Linked DNA regions of Homo sapiens: all the other regions are linked to region 1. The links are contacts of gene promoters, found by promoter capture Hi-C in blood cells and fetal thymus (Javierre and others, 2016). All regions are on one chromosome and are shown on one strand. Each heading gives the region's core, a stretch centred on a gene start or on the middle of the fragment in contact. The rest is flanking DNA. Distances are from core to core; before and after follow the strand shown.

Region 1 (3,237 bases), core at 192-2,691:
CTAATGAGTTGACAGCTGGCAACCCCTATAGAGTTTCAGGATGGGGACTGGTTATGGAAAGACCAAGACATGACTAGAAGGTTGGGACATTCAACCCCACCCCCAACCCTAAGGAGGGGACGGGATTTTAATCAACCATGCCTATGTAATGAAGCCTCTGTAAAACTCCCAAAAGACAGGGTTTAGAGAGCTTCCACCCAGCTGAACATGTGGAGGTTACTGGAAGGTGCAACACCCTTTTTTCTGTACTTTGCCCTACGCATCTCTTCATCTATATCATTTGTAATATCCTTTATAATAAACTAGTAAACATAAGTGTTTCCTGAGTTCCGTGAGCCACTCTAGCAAAATATCGAACCGCAAAGAGGGGGTGGTGAAAATCCCAATTTGAAGGTGGTGGAGTCAGATGTTCCAGAGGCTAGACTTTAGTGGGAAGTGGGAAGGGGGAGGCAGGCTTGGGGACTGAGCCCTCAGCGAATGGTGTCTGACCCATCTCCAAGTAGACGGCGTCGGAATTAAACTGGAGGACACCCAGCTGGTGCCCGCTGCAGAACTCACTGAACTCATTGCTTGCTTGAGATGTGTGGGAAACTCCCCTATATTTGGTCAGAAAAGTCTTCTGTTATGATTAGTTGTCGTTGAGATAATAGAAAAAAATGCACCTTGCGTTTTTTCCACTGATTCAGAGGGCATAACTGAAAGAATGAAGAACTGAAAGAATGATCTTAATACTCTGCTTCGCTTTTCTTGATAATACGCATTACTTCCCAATATGCATCAGTGTCCTTTATTATTAATTTTTTCCTATTGAATTCCTCCCGCATTAGAATGCTGCTCCATGAGGTGGGGATTTTGTCTGCTTGTTCACTGCTGTGTGCCCAGGGCCCACGACAGTGCCCGATACAGCAGGCGCTCAATAAGTGGCGAATGAAAGACAGGGCAAGGCGGAGAGAGAAGAAACAGAAAGGGAAAGAGAAAGCCCGGGCCGCCAGAGCGCTTAATCACACGTACATCCTACCGGGCCCCTCTCCAGCTGGCTCAGGCTCCACACTGGTCCTCCAGCTCCCTTTTCTCAGCGATGGACTCACAGCCCCACCCGGAGCGCTGGAGCGCGGACGCGGTCACTGCGCGTGCGCCTCACCGCGCTGGCACCCCGGCCTGGCAGCCTTTGGGGACCTGAACCAGCTGCGCCTGCGCAGGTGGAACGGGTGGAACGGGTGGGGGAGCGGACAGTCGAACGGCCTGAGAGGGCTCAGCTGGTCCGGGTGGGATTCTGAAGGCCAGCGGAGGTGGGCTTACTAGGGAAAGGGGCGCAGCAGTAACTACCCGCAACTGAGCGGCGGGATCTGCGGCCGCCCGGGGCCCTCGGCCAACATCCCAGCATCCTCTGCGCCGCGCCGGCCCCGGACTCCATTTCCCAGCGGCCCCTGCGGCCTGCCCTAGGGCTGCGGCGCCTTTGTGAGCGCGGCCGCCGGCCAGGATCGAGCCCTGGCCCGGGCCCTGGCCCAGCCCCGGCCTCCAAGGACCGCGCCGAAGGAGGTGCCCACTGGAGGGAGGAGGCGGTGAGGAGCGCGGGATGGAGCTGACGCCGGGAGCGGCCATGCCACCATGTGTGGGACCGTGTGTGACAGTGTGTGAGAATGTGTGAGACATTAAGGAACCGTGTGTGACAATGTGTTTGACAGTGTGGAATCGTGTGTGAGACCATGTGTGACTGTGTGAGAATTTGAGACCGTGTGTGACAGTGTGAGAATGTGAGGCCGTGTGTGAATATGTGTGTCAGTGTGAGACCATGTGGGACAAATGTGGGACTATGTGTGACAGTATGAGACTGGGTGTGAGAATGTGTGCGACAGTATGAGACCGTTGCCCCGGTGTATGCGGGAGCCTTTGACAGTATATGGGACCGTGTGGGACTGTGTGACACTGTATGTGCTTAAGACCACGTCACCATGTGTGAGACTGGGAATGTGTGACAGTGTTAAACTGTCATTATGTGTAGACCACGTGTGAACAGTGTGTAAGACCATGTCACTGTGTGTGTGACCTGTGTGTGTGGGATAATGTAAGACTGTGTGACAGTGTGTGTGACTTTGTGAACAGAGCTTGACCGTGTGTGTAGGATTAGATGAGACTGTGACAGTATGTGAGACCATGTCACCGTGTGTGAGGCTATGTGTGGTTGTGTACGGTGTGTGGCTGTTGATATGGGACCACATGAAACTGCGACAGAATTTGTGTGACAGTGTGTGAGACTGTGTCACTGTATGTGAAACTGTATGTGAACAGAGTTTTTGTTGTTGGACTAAGATTGTATGTGACAGTGTTTGAGATTGTGCATGACAGTGTGTGTGATTATGTGAGACTGAGGGAGATGGTGTGACTTAGCACTGTATGTCATCCCGACAGTGAGTGTGACAGTGTGACTGAGAATGGCCTTATATGACCCATTGTGAGAGCAGGGCGGGCTACAATGTGGGGGCATGTCCATAGGTTGCCAGGGGAGGTGCCAGAATGAGAAACTATGTGGTTTGTTGTCTGTGATTTGTGTGGGCAGGAAGCTGTGTGGGTGCTTGGAGATGCTGGTGTGCTCTGGGGTTTGGGAGACTGCTGTTGTGGTGGAGAGACAGAAAGATTGAGATAAAGGGGAAAAGATGGAGAAAGGGAGGGACGAGAGCTGAAAAGGGAGAGACAGACAGGAGCCTCAGCCTTAAGCCTGAAAAGCTGACCACGCTGGCTGCTTGTCCTCTGGCACAGTAGTTTTTCCATCCCTCTCAGTCTCTGGGGGCACGTGAGGAATTTAAAAGGAAAAAGGAATGGGAGACCTACCATGTGCTGGTTATGAAAATAAATGACAGAAAGATGAAAATTAAGCACTGTGCTCAATGCTTTATGTAGATCATTTCAGAATCCTCCCAACAATTGATAGGGAATAGTTACCATTTCACTGATAGAGAAACAGGTTTGCAGTGGTTACCTAACTTGCCAGAGGTTGTATAGGTAGCATGTGGTGGTTTGGCTGTTTGAGACCAGGTGTTCTGATCCTTAAGCCTAGTAGTTCTTACCACTGAGTTATGCCACTTCATAGGTAATGGCTTTATTCTTCAAGGCAGTGAGGTCTGCTGGACAAGAATTCACCATAGGGGGTTTGGATGACTGTTCAAGCATAGCCTGCTCCTCCCTCCCTCTCTCCTTCTTTCTGTCTGAGGAGATTGCCCAGAAAAGTCAAGAGATTAG
Region 2 (3,237 bases), core at 428-2,927, about 20 Mb before region 1:
GCCACTACACACGGCCTCCCATTATGTGAAATCAGAGCATTATAATGAGTTATATGTCAATTCCATCCCTCCAACTAGCTTTGCACATTTTCCTCCAATATAGAACTATGGGACACAGTGGGTCAGTACACACACAACATCTTTGCTTTTAGTATTTTAATCATCTCTTTTACTAAATTCATTTTTCTCATTTGCTTGGTTTCTTTCTCCACAATTTTCTTCAATACTTTTCCAATCTTTTAGGAACTCATTTTACACTAGACAAAAATGAGGGCTATATGTGAAGCACAGTATGGAAAAGTGTTTCCAACAAGAACGTGATAGCGGGAACGGCTGACACTCAGGATGGTGCTCTGTTACCTCCTCAGTCACTAGCAGCACCAGGTACACACATGCCCTTGAATGATAGTTATACACATTTCAAAACATCTGCAGATGGTTCCATTGGTCTAACAACTGTATTTGGGATATAACAAGATTTTTCCTGGATGTTATTTTTGTTTTTTAAAAAAAAGCATTGTATTGGATCAGGTGCGGTGGATCACACCTATAATGCCAATACTTTGGGAGGCTAAAGTGGGAGAATCACTTGAGCCCAGGAGTTTGAGTTCAGCTTAGGCAACATAGTGGGACCCCATCTCTACAAAAAATTTTAAAAATTAGCCAAGAGTGGTGGCACGTGCCTGTAGTCCCCAGTACTCAGGAGGCTGAGGTGGGAGGATCACCTGAGCCTGGGAGGTCGGGGCTGCAGTTAGTTGGGATCATACCACCGCATTCCGGCCTGGGTGACTGAGTGAGACCTTCTGTCAAAAAAAAAAAAAGGCTGGGTGTCATGGTGGATGGTGGCTCATGCCTGTAATCTCAGCACTTTGGGAGGTCGAGGCAGGTGGATCACTTGAGGTCAGGAGTTTGAGACCAGCCTGGCCGACATGGTGAAACCCCGTCTCTACAAAAAAAAACACAAAAAATAGCTGGGAGTGGTGGTGGGCGCCTGTAACTCCAGGTACTCAGAAGGCTGAGGCAGGAGAATCGCTTGAACCCAGAAAGCGGAGGTTGCAGTGAGCCGAGATCCTGCCACTGCACTCCAGCCTGGGCGACAGAGCGAGACTCTGTCTCAAAAAAAAAAAATTGTATTGAACTATATGATTCCACTTGAACAAAGTTCTTGTTTTGTTTTGTCTTTTTGAGATAGGGTCTGGCTCTGTCATCCAGGCTGGAGTGCAATGGTGCGATCTCGGTTCACTGTAACCTCCACCTCCCGAGCTCTAGTCATTCGCCCACCTCAGCCTCCTGAGTAGCTGCGTCTATAGGTGTGCCACCATGCCCAGCTAGGTTTTGTATTTTTTGTAGAGACACGGTTTTGCCTTGTTGCCCGGGATGGTCTGGAACTCCTGAGCTTAAGCGATCTGCCCACCTCAGCCTCCCCAAGTACTGGGATTACAGGCATGAGCCACCACACCTGCCCCACTTGAACAAGGTTCCAAAAATAAGCAAAATTACATTATAGTGTTCGACATCAAGACAGTGGTTACCCTGGGCAGTAGGTGGGTGGGGAGTGACTGAAAGCATCTGAGGTGATTTCCTTTCTTGACCTGATAGCATAGATGTACTCAATTTATGAAAATTCATCCAGCCATACACTTATGGTTTGTATATTTTTTTGTATATATGTCATTCCTCCACAAAAAATTTCAAAAACGTTTTAAAAATGTCATATTGTGGCCAGGTGCAGTGGCTCATACCTGTAATCTTAGCACTCTGGGAGGCCGAGGCAGGCAGATCACCTGAGATGAGGAGTTCAAGACAATCCTGTCCAACATGGTGAAATCCCATCTCTACTAAAAATGCAAAAATTAGCCAGGTATGGTGGCGGGCACCTGTAATCCCAGCTACTTGGGAGGCTGAGGCAGGAGAATTGCTTGAACCCAGAAGGTGGAGGTTGCAGTGAGCCGAGATCATGCCACTGCACTCCAGCCTGGGTGATAAGAGTGAAACTCTGTCTCAAAAAAAAAAAAAATGTCATATTATGTATTGGGGACACCTATTTTTTCTATGTAAAACTAAGACAAAAAGCACTGTACTGAGAAAAATATACTTTTTCTGGAGTTTAAGTTTTAAAATGAAAAGCGGTTCCACTGGAAGATGTTAACAGGAGGACATTCTGCAGAGAATGCCTTCAATTTTCTCAAGGCATCTCATTTCCGCTTTCTCACAGCTATTGACAGAAGATTTTGTAGGTAGGAGATGCTCAACATTAGTGGGAGAAGAGATAGCCACATAGGATACTGGGCTATCTGTCCCAATCCTCACAGGAGGGAAAAGAACTGGAGTAGGTTCTTTTTTTTTTGAGATGGTGTCTTGCTCTGTCGCCCCAGCTGGAGTGCAGTAACGCAATCTCGGCTCACTGCAGCCTCTACCTCCCGGGTTCCAGCAATTCTCCTGCCTCAGCCTCCTGGGCGCCTGCCACCACACTGGCTAATTTTTGTATTTTTAGTAGAGACAGGGTTTCACCATGTTGGCCAGGCTGGTCTCGAACTCCTGACCTCAAGTGATCCGCCTGCCTCGGCCTCCCAAAGTGCTGGGATTACAGGCGTGAGCCATTGCGTCCAGCCATGGAGCAGGTTCTTGGATGAAGCTCTGGTAAGCAGGAAGTTTCAGAATAAAGAATGAATCTATATACATGATACAGAAATTGACAGTATTTCGAAAAGGACAGAGAAACATTAACTTACATGGGCCATGGTTTTAGAACTGCAAAAACTGGTCAGTCCTTTTCAAGATTTCTCTGTTGGAGAACTATGGAGTCCTGATAAGCCAGAGCTGAAAGAAGAAAAAGAAACCATGAAATAAGCTGCGCCACAGAGCTCCCAAAATGATGTACATCATAAATATGAAAACTTTTTTCTCTTCCATTCCTTCTCCCAAACTACTTCCATTGGCTTTTCCAAAGTACCACCCACCACTATGCCCATCCCTATCCTATACCCACATATAACTGGGGAAAAGTATAGGGAGTCTAAAGAGAAACAAGCTCTGGCCGGGCACGGTGGCTCTCGCCTGTAATCTCAGCACTTTGGGAGGCCAAGGCAGTTGGAGCACCTGAGGTCGGGAGTTCGAGACCAGCCTGACCAACATGCAGAAACCCTGCCTCTACTAAAAATACAGAATTAGCTGGGCGTGGTGGCACATGCTTGTAATCCCAGCTACTCGGGAGGCTGAGGCAGGAGAATCGCTTGA
Region 3 (3,237 bases), core at 343-2,842, about 20 Mb before region 1:
GAGTAAACATTACACCAAGTAATTTTCATTAAATTGGAGAAAATGACCAGATGCCTGGTATCACCATGAATACTAAACCTTGTTTTGGAGACTCTATTACAATAACAATAATTTAAAAAATAATCACTATATTTAGAAAAAAACAAAATTATATCTATTTGCAGTTGACACACCTGATTGCCTAGAAAACCAAGAGTCTAGTAAAAAATAAAATTTAAAAGATTATTAGGTAATAATGAAAGCTATGATTGTATCCACATTTAACGTATTCATATGACAATATCAACATAAATACAATATGGGAGAAGGTAAGTCCATTTATAACAAAGGACTACTATCTAGAATTTTATTTTTTAAGAATCTTATAATTCTTATATTTTAAAAGCTTTTTTAAAGGAACACAGGCAAAGACATAAATTGGCAAGTTACAGCGTTTAGCCAATATTCAGATGTGAAAATATGCCCAATTCACTATTAACCAGGAAAATATTACTATGCATACCAGAAGTAAGGATATAAGGAAATAAGGAAAACATATTTCACTGGTTGAAGGGATTGTGCACTGGGAGCATACTGATGCTCTCTACTTCTATGACAGTATCTAGTGAGGTTGAAAGTAAATATTAACTATGACTGAGCAATCCTACTTTTGATAAATACCTTAGAGAAACTCTTGCTTATGTACAGTAATAAACACAGACCTATTCAATAAGGTATTTTTCACAGTGAGAAAATGCTTATCACCTAAATATTGATCAATAAGAAAGTTTAAATACATATAATGTATATATAAAAGATAGGACTAGTGGGCTTTCTATTCTATTGAAAAGTATCATTCAAAAAAAGCAAGCAGCTGGTTACAAAGCATGATGGGAGTTGCTTTCCTCACCATACCAGTAATCATACATCTGCCATAATGCTGACATTTTCATCTTCGAAGTCCTTTTGGTTATCGCAGCATCTGCCAAAGTAGAATCACATCTGCAATAGGTATTGGGAATGGGAGTTCTATGGTGAAGTCTGAATTACACTGAGTTAAATAAAATAAAACTCCATTTTCTTTCATATTGATAGGCACATAATGTGACTTTTTCCCCCAAGAAATATAGTACACAGAGCTCTCATACATGTTTCACAAAATCATTTCCTTCAAGTAGGATTAAGTACTAGTGTTCTGTGGAACATAGTTTCAGAAATTTTGAGTAAAGGTACTGTCTCCAGAAGACCTCTGTTAATGTGAAAATGTTACCTAAGAGGAGAAACACATTGTCCTATTAGCAAAACCTAATTTTATTATAGCACTTAAAATAGTCTTCTTCATGTTACATTTTACTGTTTACAAATTAAAAACCATGTGAAATCTTGGGTGGACAAGATGTATTATTCTAGATGATTAATGACTAATTAATGACATCTGCCCAATCTGAGCAAACTGGACTTGGAGGTACAAATCTTAATCTATGAATAGAGTGACATTACAGAGATTTGGTTAAAAATAAAGAGTTGTGGCAATACTTACTTTTATTTTGTGGAAGGTGCTGTGGTTTGAATGTGTCCCCCAAAGTTCATTTCCAAGTTTTTGGGAGAAACTTGATCCCCAATGCAACAATATTAAGAGGTGGGACTGTTAAGAGGTGATTAGGCCATGAGGAGTCTGCCCTTAGGAATGGATTAATGTTGTTACCACAGGAATGGGTTTGTTATCACGTGAGTGGGTTTCTTATAAAAGGGTGAGTTTGGCCCCTTTTGCTGGCTTGCTCTCTCTCTCACCCCCTTTGCCCTTCCGCCATGAGATGACACAGCAAGAGGCCACTCATAAGATGTCAGCCTGTCAATCTTGGGCTTCTCAGTCTCCAGAACCATGAGTCAATAAATTTCTGTTTGCTGTGGATTACTGAGTCTGTAGTATTCTGTTATAGCAACACAAAACAGACTAAGACAGAAAATTGGTACTGGAAAAGTACGCAGTTGCTATAATGAATAACTGAAAGTGTGGAAGTGGCTTTGGAACTAGGTAATGGGTAAGAGCTGAAAAAGTTTTGAACTGGATGTCAGAAAAAGACTATTGCTGTGGGTGGAATGTTAAAGGGTGATTCTGGTGAGGGCTCAGAAGAGCTGTATGGAAAGTCTGAAACTTTTTAGAGATTACTTCAGTGGTTGTGATCAGAATGTTGATAAATATAGGGATGGCAAAGGCAATTCTGGTGAGGTCTCAGCTGGAAATGAGAAACAAGGTATTGGAAACTGGAATAAAGGCCATCCTTATTAGAAATTAACAAAGAATCTGGCTGAATTTGTGTCCATGCCTTGGGCTTTATTGGAAGGCAGAATTTAAGAGCAATGAACTAATATGTGGTGGAAGAAATTTCTAAGGAAAATACTGAAAGAGCTACATGGCTTCTTTTAACTGCATATAGTAAGATGTGAGAGGTAGAAATGATTTAAAGATAAAACATAATTAAAAGGAAGGCAGAACAAAAAGATATGGAAAATTTGCAGCCTGGCCATTTATGAAGTGAAAAGGTGTGTTTAGGAGTGCAAACCAAGGTTGTATACCCAGAGACTGCTGAAAAGATTAGTATGAATAGAAGGAAGACAGGAGCTATCAAGACAGTGGGAGAATGACCCTGAAGGCATTCTGGCGCTCTTTGAGGCTGCCCCTTCCATCACAGACAGCATTCACTGGCTCATGCTGCCTCATGACTCTGCTTCCCACATGCCAGTAGAGTGCCCTTGGCTGCCCCAGCCATTGGTTCCTGCTGGCTCAGGTGTGGCTCAGCCTGCCACTGGGCATAAGCTGTAAGCTTGTGGTGGCAGCATCAATGTGGTGCTAATTTGGCAGGAGTGCAGAATGCAAGAGTCACGGGGGCATGGCTTCCTTCACTTAGATTTCAAAGGATGCCTTGGGTAGCCTGGGGGCCCAGTCAGATTTGTCCATGAGCAGAACCACTGCAGAGAGTCCCCACTAGGACAGTGCCTAATGGAGAGAGGCCATCCCCAAGACCCCAGAACTGAAGACCTACCAGTGTAAAACTCCAACCTGTGACAGATGCTCTATGGCATAAGCCCAGCAAAGCCATGGGGGCAAGGCTGTCTGAGAACCAGCCCCCACCCCAGTGTGTCCAAGTAGGTCATAGAGTTAAGGAAGGGTCTTCTGGAGCCTTAAGAGTTAATGTTGTTTGGCTGGGTGCGCTGGCTCACGCCTGTAATCCCAGCACTTTGGAGGCCGAGGCAGGT

What was found. The method cuts DNA at HindIII sites, captures the fragments that hold promoters and counts their contacts. A CHiCAGO score of 5 or more calls a contact.
Region 2: a contact is called between a fragment that was not itself captured here and the fragment with the promoter of ZNF583 in region 1, in 1 of 17 cell types (non-activated CD4 T cells). The highest score is 6.2, in non-activated CD4 T cells.
Region 3: a contact is called between a fragment that was not itself captured here and the fragment with the promoter of ZNF583 in region 1, in 3 of 17 cell types (total CD4 T cells, naive CD8 T cells and activated CD4 T cells). The highest score is 11.5, in total CD4 T cells.

Annotation. Positions count from the first base shown.
Region 1 is chr19:56,402,891-56,406,127 of GRCh38, forward strand. ZNF583 (zinc finger protein 583) reads left to right here and starts at 1,442. Exons shown (of 5, transcript NM_152478.3): 1 at 1,442-1,562. RefSeq lists an enhancer at 866-1,005 and a silencer at 1,466-1,675. The HindIII fragment of the contact is 8,045 bases long and covers 1-3,237 here.
Region 2 is chr19:36,365,152-36,368,388 of GRCh38, forward strand. It overlaps ZFP14 (ZFP14 zinc finger protein), which reads right to left. Exons shown (of 5, transcript NM_020917.3): 2 at 2,733-2,820. The coding sequence starts at 2,741. Among named protein-coding and RNA genes, the nearest start is that of ZFP14, 12 kb to the right of the region's middle. The HindIII fragment of the contact is 9,657 bases long and covers 1-3,237 here.
Region 3 is chr19:36,383,475-36,386,711 of GRCh38, forward strand. It overlaps a transcript of ZFP82 not described here. Among named protein-coding and RNA genes, the nearest start is that of ZFP14, 5.9 kb to the left of the region's middle. The HindIII fragment of the contact is 2,419 bases long and covers 384-2,802 here.